Linked DNA regions of Homo sapiens: region 2 is linked to region 1. The links are contacts of gene promoters, found by promoter capture Hi-C in blood cells and fetal thymus (Javierre and others, 2016). All regions are on one chromosome and are shown on one strand. Each heading gives the region's core, a stretch centred on a gene start or on the middle of the fragment in contact. The rest is flanking DNA. Distances are from core to core; before and after follow the strand shown. Region 1 holds the start of ATP7A (ATPase copper transporting alpha). Region 2 holds the start of PGAM4 (phosphoglycerate mutase family member 4).

What was found. The method cuts DNA at HindIII sites, captures the fragments that hold promoters and counts their contacts. A CHiCAGO score of 5 or more calls a contact.
Region 2: a contact is called between the fragment with the promoter of PGAM4 here and the fragment with the promoter of ATP7A in region 1, in 13 of 17 cell types (neutrophils, M2 macrophages, naive CD8 T cells and 10 more). The highest score is 9.0, in neutrophils.

Annotation. Positions count from the first base shown.
Region 1 is chrX:77,907,581-77,915,380 of GRCh38, forward strand. ATP7A (ATPase copper transporting alpha) reads left to right here and starts at 3,113. Exons shown (of 23, transcript NM_000052.7): 1 at 3,113-3,255. The HindIII fragment of the contact is 7,135 bases long and covers 1-4,972 here.
Region 2 is chrX:77,964,540-77,971,658 of GRCh38, forward strand. It overlaps PGAM4 (phosphoglycerate mutase family member 4), which reads right to left and starts at 5,099. Exons shown (of 1, transcript NM_001029891.3): 1 at 3,410-5,099. The coding sequence starts at 5,099. The coding sequence ends at 4,335. It overlaps ATP7A (ATPase copper transporting alpha), which reads left to right. Exons shown (of 23, transcript NM_000052.7): 2 at 7,082-7,119. The coding sequence starts at 7,103. It also overlaps the pseudogene C4orf46P2. The HindIII fragment of the contact is 8,998 bases long and covers 1,881-7,119 here.

The DNA of each region.
Region 1 (7,800 bases), core at 1,863-4,362:
TAGTTAATCTTATCCTGATGAGTAATTCTAAAACTTATGACCACTACTAGAAATGAAGCAGTTTTTTGTGTGTGTGTGCCATCACAGTATATACTGACCTTGGAGCTTTCCTAGTGCTCTCAGAGCCATGAAAATATCCTTTCACACAAATTTTCTCAACTTACCCGTAACATCGCTTTGAGTTTCAGTCATACCTAGAGTTGGAAAGTCGTCAAATTAGTCCTCTGTCCTCAAGTATCTGTAAGTCTGAAGAATTTAGGTAAGTTACTTACCTTAAAATCATTGCCAATCCTTTAAACTCTATTTGGATGGCTGTGAAATATTTTAACATTAGGGTTAATGTCATAAATCCCATTCTTTTTTTTTTTTTGAGACCGAGTTTTGCTCTGTCATCCAGGCTGGAGTTCAGTGGTGTGATTTTGGCTCACTGCAACCTCCGCCTCCTGGGTTCAAGGGATTCTGCCTCGGCCTCCCAAGTAGCTGGAATTACAGGCGCCCACCATCACACCTGGTTAATTTTTATATTTTTAGTAGAGACAGGGTTTTGTCATGTTGGCCAGGCTGGTCTCGAACTCCTGACCTCAGGCGATCCACCTGCCTCGGCCTCCCAAAGTGCTGGGATTACAGTCGTGAGCCACGGTGCCCAACCTCATAAATCTCATTCTTAATTTCACTCTAGGACAGAATTATTGTAGCACCTGTGTTCTGTTATTTTAGATTCATTTTAACTTACCTAGACACGGGTACTGTGGTAGTTGTAGAGGTACAGATGTTGAGTTCCCATCCTCCTGGCTTAATGTCACTGGGGTTATTAATACACTTCATAAGCATTTTAGGGACACCTGCTGTCTGCTCAACCCCCAGCAAACCTGATTATTTCTTGAAGACATTCCCTTCTATGCTTGTGCATTGGTAAGGAGGATTAGGGATGATGCATTTAAAGACAAGAGTTTTAGGCTGGGCCTGGTGGCTCATATCTGTAATCCCAGCACTTTGGGCAGCTGAGGTGGGAGGATCATTTGAGGCCAAGAGTTCGAGACCAGCCTGGGCAACAAAGGGAGACTCCCATCTCCACACACAAAAAAATAAAAACTAGCCAGGTGTGGTGGTGTGTGCCCATAGTTCCAACTACTTGGGAGGCTGAGGTGCAAGGATCGCTTTAGCCCCGGAGTTTAAGGTTACAAGGACCTATGATCACACTTCTGCACTCCAGCCTGGGTGACAGCAAGACTCTCAAAACCAAACAACAACAAAATATATATATAGCTCTCTAGGTTTTTATGTTAAATATTAGAGTGCCTAAGAATGTACATGGTTGGCAGAGGATCTTGCAGCTCATAGTGATAAACTTTAGTATTTACATAAAAATACTAGATAGCTAGTAGATTCAATGTTCTGCTTCTGAAAAAGATATATTTTTGGTTTTGCCTTTTAGTGAATTTCTTTTGGATGCTTAACACAATGTTAATATAGTTACAAACCAACTTGCTAATATTTGGAAACCCACTTAAAAGCTATCTTCATTTCATATGATGTGATTTTTAAGATTTTAAATTTGGGGCTGAGTTTGTATCTTAATAATTAAGGCTGCACACATTGACAACTACAAAATAATGCCTGGGAAGATGAGTCCTGAGGCTAATTTTATATTTATGTGGATGAGTGTGGAGGGGGATAATAATTCTGAAATACTTAATCACAGACCTAAAATGTAGATCTATGGGTAATTTTAAATGTTGCCTGTCAAGGCTTAATAGGGACTTGACAACAGCTAGGATGGAAATTATTTCAACACTTAAATATGCTTACTTTGTGCCGGACGCTGTTCTAAGTCTTTTACAAATATTTACTTGATATTTGTATTTTGTGTACTATTTTGATTTCTGCAACATTATTAGGCTTCATACTCTTCTGTGGGAACTGGGTTCAAATGGTTCCAGATGAAAATACAAATAGTCCTGTGATTAGTTTTGTTCTACATCTTATGACAGATACTTCATGAAAGGAAATATGAAAAGGCCACATCTTGCTTTGAAATAAGTGAGATGGAGCCTCTCCCTCTTTTTACTGTTAATGTTCATAGTTTTAAAAATCCTAGAATTTTGCTGCTTTTCAAAATGTTAAGTTGGAAAGCAAGAATAAAATGACCCTTTTTTCAAATGTTTTCTGTACCATTTATTGCATTGTTTACATTTTATGCATCTCATTTCTAAATGAACTCATGGTAACAGAGACTGTAACACTTTTGCATCACCGGAATCTTCTAGGTGTGTAAAATGATGGACGAGTGAATGAATAAATGGGGGAGTGGTTCAGAGCTTGGAATGGCGCTATGAAGGTGGTGAAGTGACGTCCCTACCCCCTCAACACACATATAAAAATTATGAATTTATAAACATTTTCCTCTTGATGTAATTTTTCAATGGAGGGAAGAGGATAAATTCATAGTTCTGGCACTTACATCTGGAATTAGGCTACACAGTCTACGGGAAGCAAGTTAACACAGTCTAACAGATGCACGTGAATTTCATGCTGGGCGAAGATGAACTATGTGGAAGATGACTTATAAGGAGCTTTTATGTTACATCTTGGCAGTTAACACAGTCTAACTGATGCACGTGAATTTCATGCTGGGCGAAGATGAACTATGTGGAAGATGACTTATAAGGAGCTTTTATGTTACATCTTGGCAGTTAACACAGTCTAACAGATGCACGTGAATTTCATGCTAGGCAAAGATGAACTATGTGGAAGATGACTTATAAGGATCTTTTATGTTACATCTTGGCCTGAGGTTAGGAAACTAAAGATGACAAAGGCACTGTTTTAGTATGGGTTTTCTGGTTTCGCTTTTGTCGTGGGGGCGGGGTGGGATAGTGGACTCGTACCCTAACAAAGACCCACTCGAGGCTGCGTGTCGGCCCGGGGGCAGCAGGGGGCAGGAGAAGCTGGCTCTAGACCACGCGTTCCTTTTCACGTGACCAGTCGCTCTCTTTCCCGTGGCGGCCCTGCTTCCGGCAGGGGCATCACCCGGAAGTGGGGGTAGTCGAGGGAGGGAGGGGTAAAGGCGGCTGGCCGCCGCGGCGGGGGGTGGGAAAAGAGAAGCAGAGGGAGGAGTTGTTGCTGCCGCCGCCGCAGCCGCAGCTACTGTGACTTCTCCGATTGTGTGAGCTTTGTTGGAGCCTGCGTACGTGGATTTATCGCTGCCACGGTCTGCGTAGCTCCAGAGGTTTAACCATAGGATAGAGAAACCAGGTAAGTCCTACATTGGCTTCCCGTCGTCCTTTCTCCTGGAGGGGGTCTTCTGTGCTGTCAGTTTGTACTACGAGTGTGGTGAGAAGGTCATGTTAGTCTGGGGCAGTCTCGAAAGTTTCACTTATTCACAATTCAGGTATTAACTACATTTATGTTTTACCTCCCCTAACAGGGGATAGAGGAGGGGAAATTAAATCCTGACCTGTGTCACTTTCTTGTACCCTCTTGGAGAGAATGTCCTGATCATCCATGGCCTACGTTACCCAATTAATTGAGGGTACAAGAAAGTTTGTGTTTGGCATTGAAAGTCACATGGACTGGGGTCTTTGCTTAGTGACACCTCTTTATACTTTGGAAGCTAAGGTTACTAAAATGACCATAATTGATGAAATAATAATTGAAAAATAGATATTTGGCTTCTTGTCTTGCTCTGGGAGCGTAAGGTAAACTGAGAGAACTCTTGTTTCCACTTAGTTTTGTTCATTGTGCCCCCTTTCCAGTAAAGTTACTGTCCATTGTCCGACCCTGTGGCATCTTATCTTTGACACTTTTCTTCGTTGTAGACGTTGAGATTATCTTAAGCACAAACACTTATCGTTTCACAATTCAGCGTTTGTCCAGGATCTGATCTTTATTTTAATCACAGACTCTTTATCTACAATAGTATGGCTTTGTATTGAGAATATGTGCAGAACATTGAATTAGATGATACTGAGGTTATTAATTTTTTTTTTTTTTTGCCGGGTGCGGGGGGGTGGTGGGGAGGGGGTGATGCACAAGAAATAAGACAGAGTTCCTGGCCTCAAAAGAGTTTACTTACAGTAGGCTGGGCGCAGTGTCTGACACACCTGTAATACCAACACTTTGGGAGGCCGAGGAGGGTGGATCACCTGAGGTCAGGAGATCGAGACCAGCCTGGCCATCATGGCGAAACCCTGTCTTTACTAAAAATACAAAAATTAGCTGGGCGTGGTGGCGGGCGCCTGTAATCCCAGCTAGTCGGGAGACTGAGGCAAGAGGATCGCTTGAACCTGGGAGGCGGATGTTGCAGTGAGCCGAGATCGTGCCACTGCACTCCAGCCTGGGCTACAAGAGCGAAACTGTCTCCAAAAAAGAAGAAAGAAAAATAAACAGTTTACATACAATTGAGTCCGAATTGAGTCAGTTGAATTCAGCTATGAAGACAACGGTTTCTAGCAGCCCCACTGACTGAATTACTAGGTTGCTTATCACATCCTTTTCAATGGTTATTTTTGAACTGGCATTTTATTATATTTAACATTTTCTGGTGTCTAAGGTCATGACATGAGAGAGTTTTTTTTGTACTTGAGGATCTCAATGTAGTAGGAAAGAAAGATACACGATTACCTAAACATTTAAAAAATCTCACTAACGTTATATATTAGAAACAGGAGGTGTTATGAGAGTGCAGGGAAGGGAGCATGTGAACTGGGCTTTGAAAAATAGATAGGATTTAGCTTTGCAGGAATGGAGGAAGAGGAAGACATCTATCTGGACTGATAGATAGAAGAAATAATGTGAGCAAAGCCATGGGGGTCTGGAAAGTTGCCCGACATCCAGTAACACACTGTAAGTCAATATTCCTATTTCTAACAGCCACATCTTCCAAGATGTCACTGATTAAAATTAGAAAAAATATAGAATACAAAACTAGTCAGCTCACAAACATATCCAACTGCCCTCCAGCCAATAAGAAAGCTTATATAGAGAAAAAAATACATGGAAATGACAAAAGCAATGTTAATGTATGAGGCTTAATTCTGATGTAAACTCAAATCTAAAAGAGAAAAAATGTAAAACTCGCTATACTTTAATTCTGATTGAGTGTTGTGCCTTAAATATAATTTGGAATCATTTTTAAAATTGTTGGGAATGAATAACATTTTCTGAAGTGAGCAACTGTTCCAGGTTTTCCCCAAGGAATCTCTGCTTTTCCTTTTTTCCTCTAAATTGATTTCTCTCTATTGATCTTCTTAACTTGATAGGAACTATTCTATTCCGATCACAGCCTTAGAAAGATCTTGATGCCTGCCCTCAAGATAAGGTTAAACACTAATCCCTCCAAAGGATAGGTTAACATCTCTGTTCTCTAAAGCAGAAGGTTGATTTTCTTTGAAAAATGCTTGCAGAAGCAGTAAAATTTGCTTACAAAACAAGAGAGAGAGAGAAAAGAGTGCAAAAATAACCCCAGCTAACACACCACAACCTTCACTTCTGTGAGGGCGCTAAAGGAAATACATTTTAAAAAAATAAATTCCTTGTTATAACTCCTTTTATCTATATATTTAAAAGCTCTTGGCAAACTTTATTAATCAAGACTTTGGACATCCTGATGAGTGAAAATAATCTTCATTTGCCAGTTGGGAAAGTAAATTGCAAGGAGAGATTTTTGTCTGAACTCATAGAAGCACTAGCATAGATGAGAATAGTATTTGGGAGTTTTGTCTCAAAATTCCTTCTATTCATCTTTGTTAAAGGGCAGTTCAGGTTTTAGCGTTTTGTTTTTAGACAACGATATTTCTTAGGATATAGCTCAACATGGGGCCGGGGCAAGGGGGAGGCTGGGGGACAGATGAGTGATAGGCAATGGTTAGGCAGAGTATTTTAGTTCACTCTACCATCCCAGCAATCATGTTTTTCCCTCTTAAATCTCAGTCTTCAGGTTGATTTAATGTGATATTACTTGCTTACTTAACTTGCTGAGATAGTTTGGCAGGAAAAATATCAAAATTCCTTTAGAATGTGTTTCATTAAAGTAAAAGGGTCCTGTGTTTCTGATTTTATAAAATGTTCTTACTTTTTCCAGCACTGTTTGCAAATTGAAGTGATTTCCTAATCTTTTTGTGCCCAAATGTATGAGATATTGGTAGACTACATCAGTTTTCACAGATACCTCTTTCCTTGAAGGAAATGAGGGTAAAATACCCCATTTTGAGTCAGTTATGTGTACTTTGTACCATATTTTCTGTTCACATTTAAAATTATACAGCTATGTCTCAAGGATGAAAAAAGAGTTTTACTTATTTTTACTATTAATCTCTAGTGTAGAAGTCCAGTTTTTCAGACCTATAATCAGGAGTGCATTTTTAACAATTTACCAGTTGAAATAAATGGGTTATTTCACATTGTAGGGATATTGTTTTAGACTGGCCATTAACCTTATTTTATTTTATTTTTATTTTAAAAGATGTTATTGTTATTATTTATCTATGTATTTATTTCTAGAGGCAGGGCCTCGCTCTGTGGCCCAGGCTAGGGTGCCATGGCACAATCATAGCTCACTGCAGCCTTAATCTCCTGGGCTCAAATGATCCTCTGGCCTCTCAAGTAGCTGGAACCACAGGCGCATGCCACCATGCCTAGCTACTTATTTATTAATTAATTATTATTTTTTAAATAATATTATTTTTAAGAGATGGGGTCTTGCTCTGTCACCCAGGCTGGAGTGCAGTGGCGCCATCATAACTCACTGCAGTCTCGATCTCCCAGGCTCAAGCGATCCTCCTACCTCAGCCTCCTGAGTAGCTGGGACTATAGGTGTGTGCCACCACTCCCAGCTAATTTTTAAACTTTTTGTAGAGACAGCATCGTGCTGTGCAGTGGTGCTATCTCGGCTCACTGCAACCTCCGCCTCCTGGGTTCTAGTGATTCTCTTGCTTCAGTCTCCCAAGTAGCGGGGATTACAGGTGCGCGCCACCACACTTGGTTAGTTTTTGTATTTTTGGTAGAGAAGGGGTTTTGCCATGTTGGTCAGGCTGGTATCGAACTCCTGACTGACCTCAAGTGATCCACCCTCCTCAGCCTCCCAAAGTGCTGGGATTACAGGCATGAGCCACTGTGCCAGGCCTTAAAACACCTAGTGTTAAAAATGGTGTCTTAATTGTATTCTCAGATTCTCCTAGAAAGAAAAGATATACTAAATGTATATTTAGATATACTAAAACACCTAATGTTTATTTTTGTTTATTTATTTTTGAGATGGAGTCTGGCTCTGTCACCTAGGCTGGAGTGAAATGGTCTATGTTTGTTTTTTCATCTTGACAGTAATATCTTTGAACATTTTCTGGAGTATTAGATATTATTCTCTTGATGCTTCAAGGTATCTTAACTTCACCATTGTATTGCGATATATTGTTTTGGAGAGACAGTATAATATAGGATTAAGAGTGGAGGCTAGGTGGGGCACAGTTGCTCACGCCTGTAATCCCAGCACTTTGGGAGGCCGTGGCAGGCGGATTGCTTGAGCCCAGGCGTTCGAGACCAGCCTGGGCAACATAGGGAAACCCTGTCTCTACAAAAAATACAAAAATTAGCTGAGTGTGTTGGCACGTGCCTGTAGTCCCAGCTACTCAGGAGGCTGAGGTGGAAGGATCGCTTGAGCCTGGAAGGTTGAGGCTGCAGTGAGCTGAGATCACACCACTGCACTCCACCCTGGATGAGAGAGTGACAGAGTGAGACCCTGTCTTGTCCGGAAAAAAAAAAAAAGCCTGTCTTGTCTGGCTCAGTCCAGGTGCTAGACTGTCT
Region 2 (7,119 bases), core at 3,849-6,348, 59 kb after region 1:
GTATTTCTCCTAATGTTATCCCTCGCCTAATCCCCACCCCCCGACAGGCCCCAGTGTGTGATGCTTCCCTCCTTATGTCTGTGTGTTCTCATTGTTCAAATCCCACTTACGAGTGAGAACATGCAGTGTTTGGTTTTCTGTTCATGTGATAGTTTGCTGAGAATTATTGTTTCCAGCTTCATCCATGTCCCTGCAAAGGACATGAACTCATCCTTTTTTATGGCTGCGGAGTATTCCATGGTGTATATGTGCCACATTTTCTTTATCCAGTCTGTTATTGATGGACATTTAGGTTGGTTCCAAGTCTTTGCTATTGTGAATAGTGCCTCAATAAACATACATGTGCATGTGTCTTTATAGTAGAATGATTTATAATCCTTCGGGTATATATCCTGTAATGGGATTACTGGGTCAAATGGTATTTCTAGTTCTAGATCCTTGAGGAATCATCACACTGTCTTCCACAATGGTTGAACTAATTTACACTCCCGCCAACAATGTAAAAGCACTGGACTTTTTTTTTTTTAAGTTAAAAGATCACACACAGGGTGTGATTTCTATACCAAAGATATGCTTATTTCAGTATGAGGAAAAATATTTTTCTTACATGTCCTGAAAATTGCAATTTTAAAAATGTACAAAATAAATTTTTATTAAAAGCAAATTTTATTTCAAAAAAAAAGAGTGAAAGACAACCAACTGGATAGGAGAAAGTATTTGAAAGTCATATATCTGATAAGGGATTAATATCCAAGAATATAAAGAACTCTTACAACTCAACAACAACAACAAAATAACCTTATTAAAAATTGGGTAGAGTGCTTGAATAGACATTTCTTCGAAGATATACAAATACCCAATAAGCACATGAAAAGATGCTTGACATCATCAGTAATCAGAGAAATGTGAATCAAAACCACAATGAGATACCACTTCACACCTGCTAGGATGGGTAGAATAAAAAAGATAATAGGTATCGGAGGTGGAACAATTGGGGCCCTTATATACTGCTCATGGGAGTATAAATGGTACAGTCACTTTGGAAAACAGTCTGGCAGATCCTCAAACAATTAAACATAGAGTTATTATATGACCCAGCAAGTCTACTCTTAGGTATTACCAAAGAGAAATGAAAACACAAAAGTTTGTACATGAATGTTTATAGCAGCATTATTCATAATAGCCAAAAGATGGAAACAACCCAAATGTTCATCAACTGACAAATAGATAAATTATGGTGTATCTATGCAGTGGAATATTATTCAGCCATAAAAGGGAATGATGTACTGATATGTGCTGTAACATGGATGAACACTGAAAACATGCTACATGAAAGAAGTCAGTCACAAAAGACCACATATTACATGATTTCATTCATCTGAAATGTCCAGAAGAGGAAAATCTATACAAGCAAAGTAGATTAGTGGTTGCCCAGGACAGAAGGCTTAGGAGGTGATGACTGATAGGTAAGGGGTATGTTTTGTTGTTGTTGTTGTTGTTTTTAGGTGATGAAAATGTTCTGAAATTGCCTGTGGTGATGGTTGCACATGTCTGTGAATATGCTAACAACTATTGAATTCTACACTTTAAATGTGCGAATTATATAATACGTGAACTACATCTCAAGAATGTTTTAAAACTGGTGTTGGGAAAACAGGACATCCACATGTAAAACAATGTATGTCAGATCCTTACCATACACCATGTACAACAATTAACTCAAAATGGATTAAAGACCTAAATATAAGAGCCAAAACTACAAAAACTCTTAGAAGAAAACATAGCAGTAAATATTCGTAAGTTTGAATGTGGCAATGGTTTCTTAGATATGACACAAAAAACACAAAAGAAAAAAGATAAATTGGACTTCACAAATTAAAAGCTTTTGTGATTCAATGGACACCATCAAGAAAGTGAAAAGAATGGAATACCGATACATTTTACACATCAATGTACCTTGAAAACATTATGCTAAGTGAAAGAATCCAGACACACAAGGACACATATTGAATGAATCAATTTATATGAAATGGCCGTATAGGCAAATCCGTAGAGATAGGAAATAAAATTAGTGTTTGCCAGGGGCTGTGAGTAGAGAGGAAATGGGGAGTGTTGCTAATGGACATGGGATTTCTTTTTGGAGTAATGAAAATGTTTTGCAACTACATAGTCATTATGGTTGCACATCCTTGTGAATGTACTAAAAAGTACTGAACTGGATACCTTAAAAGGCTGAATTTTTTTCATTTCTTCTAAAAAAAACCAGGATAGATGTGCAGAACGTGCAGGTTTGTTACGTAGGTACATGTGTGCTATGGTGGTTTGCTGCATCTATTGACCCATCCTTTAAGTTTCCTCCCCTCACCCCTCACCCCCCAGCAGGCTCCGGTGTGTGATGTTCCCCTCCCTGTGTCCATGTGTTCTCATTGTTCAACTCCCATTTATGAACAAGAACATGCAGCATTTGGTTCTCTGTTCCTGTGTTAGTCTGCTGAGGATGATGGTTTCCAGCTTCATTCATATCCCTGCAAAGGACATGATCTCATTCCTTTGTATGGCTGCATAGTATTCCATGGTGTATATGTACCACATTTTCTTTCTCCAGTCTATCATTGATGGGCATTTGGGTTGGTTCCAAGTCTTTGCTATTGTAAATAGTGCTGCAGTAAACATACGTGTGCATGTGTCTTTATAGTAGAATGATTTATATTCCTCTGGGTATGTACCCAGTAATGGGGTTGCTGGGTCAAATGGTATTTCTGGTTCTAGATCCTCGAGGAATCGCCATACTGTCTTCCACAATAGTTGAACTAATTCACATTCCCACCAACAGTGTAAAAGCGTTCCTATTTCCCCACAGCCTCACCAGCATCTATTGTTTCCTGAGTTTTTAATAATTGCTATTCTGACTGGTGTGAGATGGTATCTCATTGTGGTTTTGATTTGCATTTCTCTGATGATCTGTGATGTTGAGCTTTTTTTCATATGTTTGTTGGCCGCATAAATGTCTTCTTTTGAGAAATGTCTATTCATATCCTTTGCCCACTTTTTGATGGGGTTGTTTTTTTCTTGTAAATTGTTTAAGTTCCTTGTAGATTCTGGATATTAGACCTTTGTCAGATGGGTAGATTGCAAAATGTTTTCTCCCATTCTGTAGGTTAAAAGGCTGAATTTTATAGCATGTGAATTATATCCCAATTTAAAAAAGAATGCATATGTCTTAGTTCAGGCTTCCATAACATAATACCATAGACTGGGTGGTCTAATTGTTCAAAGCTCCACAGAAATTAGTTGGAGAAGTTACAAGAGTCCATTAATCATCTTGCTTTGTTAGTAGCAGCGGGCATGGTTCAGCATTTTCTGCTTAAGTTTCTCTGAGCTCACCAAAACTAAAATGATGTTGTAATACTTTTTTTTTTTAATTGCACATCACTCCTTTATTATACTGATCTGGTAAAAGGATTTAGTACAGTTATGCTCAGATGAACACTGGGCCCATGTGGCAGGGTCAAGCAACTAGAACATGATTCAGAAATCAGTGAAAGACACACTTGGACAGGACCAAGAGGCATTTCACTGCCATGAAACAAGGCAGGAAGGGATTCTAATACACACACCAGGAAGCACTCCTGCCCCTCAGAGGTCAAGGAGCTGATCCTATATTGGTATGAGGAATGGCTTATTTTCTGATGACCACATGTGGGACTATTTCAACCGCCACAAGAAACCCCAGAAGGGTTATTGTTTTGTATTATTAATATATACTATACTTTTTTAATAAAAGTAAATATAACACATAACGAAATTCAGGATTGATCCCAACCTAGAGCCAGATCCTCTGGGGTCAAGGAGGAAACAGTTGTCACATCACCATGCAGATTACATTCATCTTCCACTGGAATGACTAGAGCCCCCAGGCAGTGGCCTGACTGCAGAAGAGCAGAGGACAGACTCTGCTCATGGGGACAGACAGGCTCTGTTGCTTCTCCTCATTGGTCGTGGCTTAGCATGTTCCTCCCCAAAGTCCTTAGTAAACAAAGCACTCACAAAAACCCAAGTCACTACTTTTAAACTCTGTTGGATAAGGGGAGCTTTTCCACAGCTTAGACTGAGAACCTGTGCTCTAGAACTGCTATTCTGACTAGATTGTATGAAGGGAGTGGGTGCAGGCGACAAAATGGCTAAAATGAAAATGGGAGCCACTGGTCCCCATCTGCAGCTACAACTCAAGATGTCTACAGATGTGGTCAGTGTGACATGTGCAGGTGGGAGGGGCAGAGGGACAAGACCAGCAGGGAGGGTGCTCCTGGGGACAGTATCCTCCCCGCTGGCCTTCACTTCTTGGCCTTGCCCTGGGCAGCCACAGCTTCTATGGCTTTGCACACCGTCTCTTCATCCCCCAGAAACTGCATGGGCTTGATAGGCTTCAAGTTCTTGTCCAATTCATAGACGATGGGAATACCAGTCGGCAGGTTCAGCTCCATGATAGCCTCTTCAGAGAGACCCTCCACATGCTTGGCAATGCCCTGGAGGCTGTTGCCATGGGCTGCAATCAGTACACGTTTCCCCTCCTTGATCTGGGGAACTATTTCTTCATTCCAGAAGGGCAGAGCTCTGGCAATAGTATCCTTCGGACTCTCATAGGAGGGTAGCTGATCTTCTGTGAGGTCTGCATACCTGCGATCCTTACTGATGTTGCTGTAGAAAGGATGGTCGGGCTCCATCGGAGGTGGTGGGACATCATAGGAGCGCCTCCAGATCTTCACCTGGGCCTCACCATGCTTTGCAGCAGTTTCTGCTTTATTGAGACCGGTTAGACCCCCATAGTGCCGCTCATTGAGGCGCCAAGTCCTCACCACTGGCAGCCACATCTGATCAATGGCATCTAGCACTGTCCAGAGGGTCCGGATCACTCTCTTCTGCACTGAGGTGAGGCAGATGTCAAACTCATAGCCAGCATCTCGTAGCGCCTGCCCGCCGCGCTTCGCCTCCTCGTGGCCCGCCGGGCTCAGATCGGCGTCGTACCAGCAGCTGAAGCGGTTCTCCAGGTTCCATGTGCTCTCGCCGTGCCGGATCAGCACCAGTTTGTAGGCGGCCATGGCGGTGGGCTGCAATACTTTTTATACCATTTGAAGTAAAAGGTACAAAAGGTTATACGCTGAAAATTCTTTTTCCCACCCTTATTCCCTAACCACTCATTTCCCCTCACCAGAGGAACCACTGTTTCCATGGGATATATTAGATTGATTTATATGAAATTGCCGGTGTTTGACTATGATGATTTCATGTGGTTCAGCCTAATATCAGTGAAAAAACAGAGTCCTATCTTCATGGAGTTTTTATTCTAGTGGGAAGTGTATTACTTAATTATTGCAGTGTAACAAATAACCCCAAAATTTAGTGGCTTAAAGCAACAAACATTTATTATCTCACATTTCCTATGACTCAATAATTTGGGAGCAGCTTAGATGGGTAGTTCTGGCTCAGGGTGTCTCATGAAGTTGTAGTCAATATGGTGTCTGGGGATGTAGTAGTTTAAAGGCTTAACTTAGGTCTGAAGGAGCAGTTTCCAAGGTGGTTCACTTACCTGGCTATTGGCGGGAGGCCTTAGGTCTTTGCTGGTTTTTGACATGAGGCCTCAGTTCCTCACCATATGAACCTCTCCATAAGGCTGCTTGTATGTCTTCATACTTGGTAGGTGGCTTCCCCCAGATTGCGTGATTCAGGAGAGAGGACAACAAGGAAAACACAATGCTTTTTTCTCCTCTTGCAATGTTTTTTATGACCTAGTCTTGGAAGTCACACCTTGTCGCTTCTACCGTAGTCTATTCATTAGAAACAAGTCATTAGGCCAGGTGTGGTGGCTCATGCCTGTAATCCCAGCACTTTGGGAGGGCGAGGCGGGTGGATCACTTGAGGTCAGGTGTTCGAGACCAGCCTAGTCAACATGGTGAAACCTTGTCTCTACTTAAAATACAAAAAATTAGCCGGGTGTGGTGGCATGCGCCCGTAATCTCAGGTACTGGGGAGGCTGATGCAGGAGAATCACTTCAACCCGGGAGGCGGAAGTTGCAGTGAACTGAGATCGTGCCACAGCACTCCAGCCTGCGAGACAGAATTGAGTCTCAAAAACAAAAACAAAAACAAAAACCAAAACAACAACAACAACAAAAAACAAGAAACAAGTCATTAAGTTCAGGCCACACCGAAGGGGAAAGGATTAAATTCCACCTCTTGAAGGAAGGAGTAGCAAAGAATTTGTGGGCGTATTTTAAAACCACCACAGGAAGGCAGACAATAAGCAATAAACAGAATAAATCAGCAAGTTATGGAGTATGTTAGAAGGTGGTACGTTCTATGAAAACAAAAGAAAAAGCAGAGGTAAGGGGAATCAGAGTATGTTTGTGTGGAAGGGATGTAGGTTGCAGTTTTAAATAGGGTGGTCAGCATAGTCCTCATTAAGGTTAGATTTGAACAAAGACTTGGAGACAAAGAAGTTAGCCAAGCAGTTATCTGGAAGAAGAAAGTCCCAAAGCAAGAGAATAGCTAAAATAAGGCCTTGAAGTAGGAGTCATCCTTGCATGCGTAACAGCCAGGAGGCCAGTATGACTGGCACAGAGAAGGGTTTGGTGAGTGGTAGAAGAGGAGGCCAGGTAAACTTGAGGGGGACAGGCATGGGAAATCATGTGGGACCTTGTTGGCTGTTGTAAGGATTTGAGGCATTTTTGATTAGTTCTTAATTCGTACTTACAAATGTTAAATGAGATTATGTATGGGAAACATTAGTAATCAGGAAAGCACTCTATGAAAGCTAGTTACTTGTATTAAAGTATTGAAATTTTTATTTTTAGTTAGCATATCCATAGAAACAACTTTCCTTTACTTCATCTAAGGTGATAAGAATTTTTTTTCTAAGCAGGAAGAATGCTTACCATATTTTATTACTAGCACATTTTAATTTTTTAAACATGACACTTGAGCATATATAAAATGTAGCATATTTTTAATTGGGGAGGTGGGGGAAAAGTTGAGGAAAGATTATTTGCATGGCTGAAATTAATGAATTTATTGTTTCTAACAGGAATGTAATGAGGAAATCAAAATGGATCCAAGTATGGG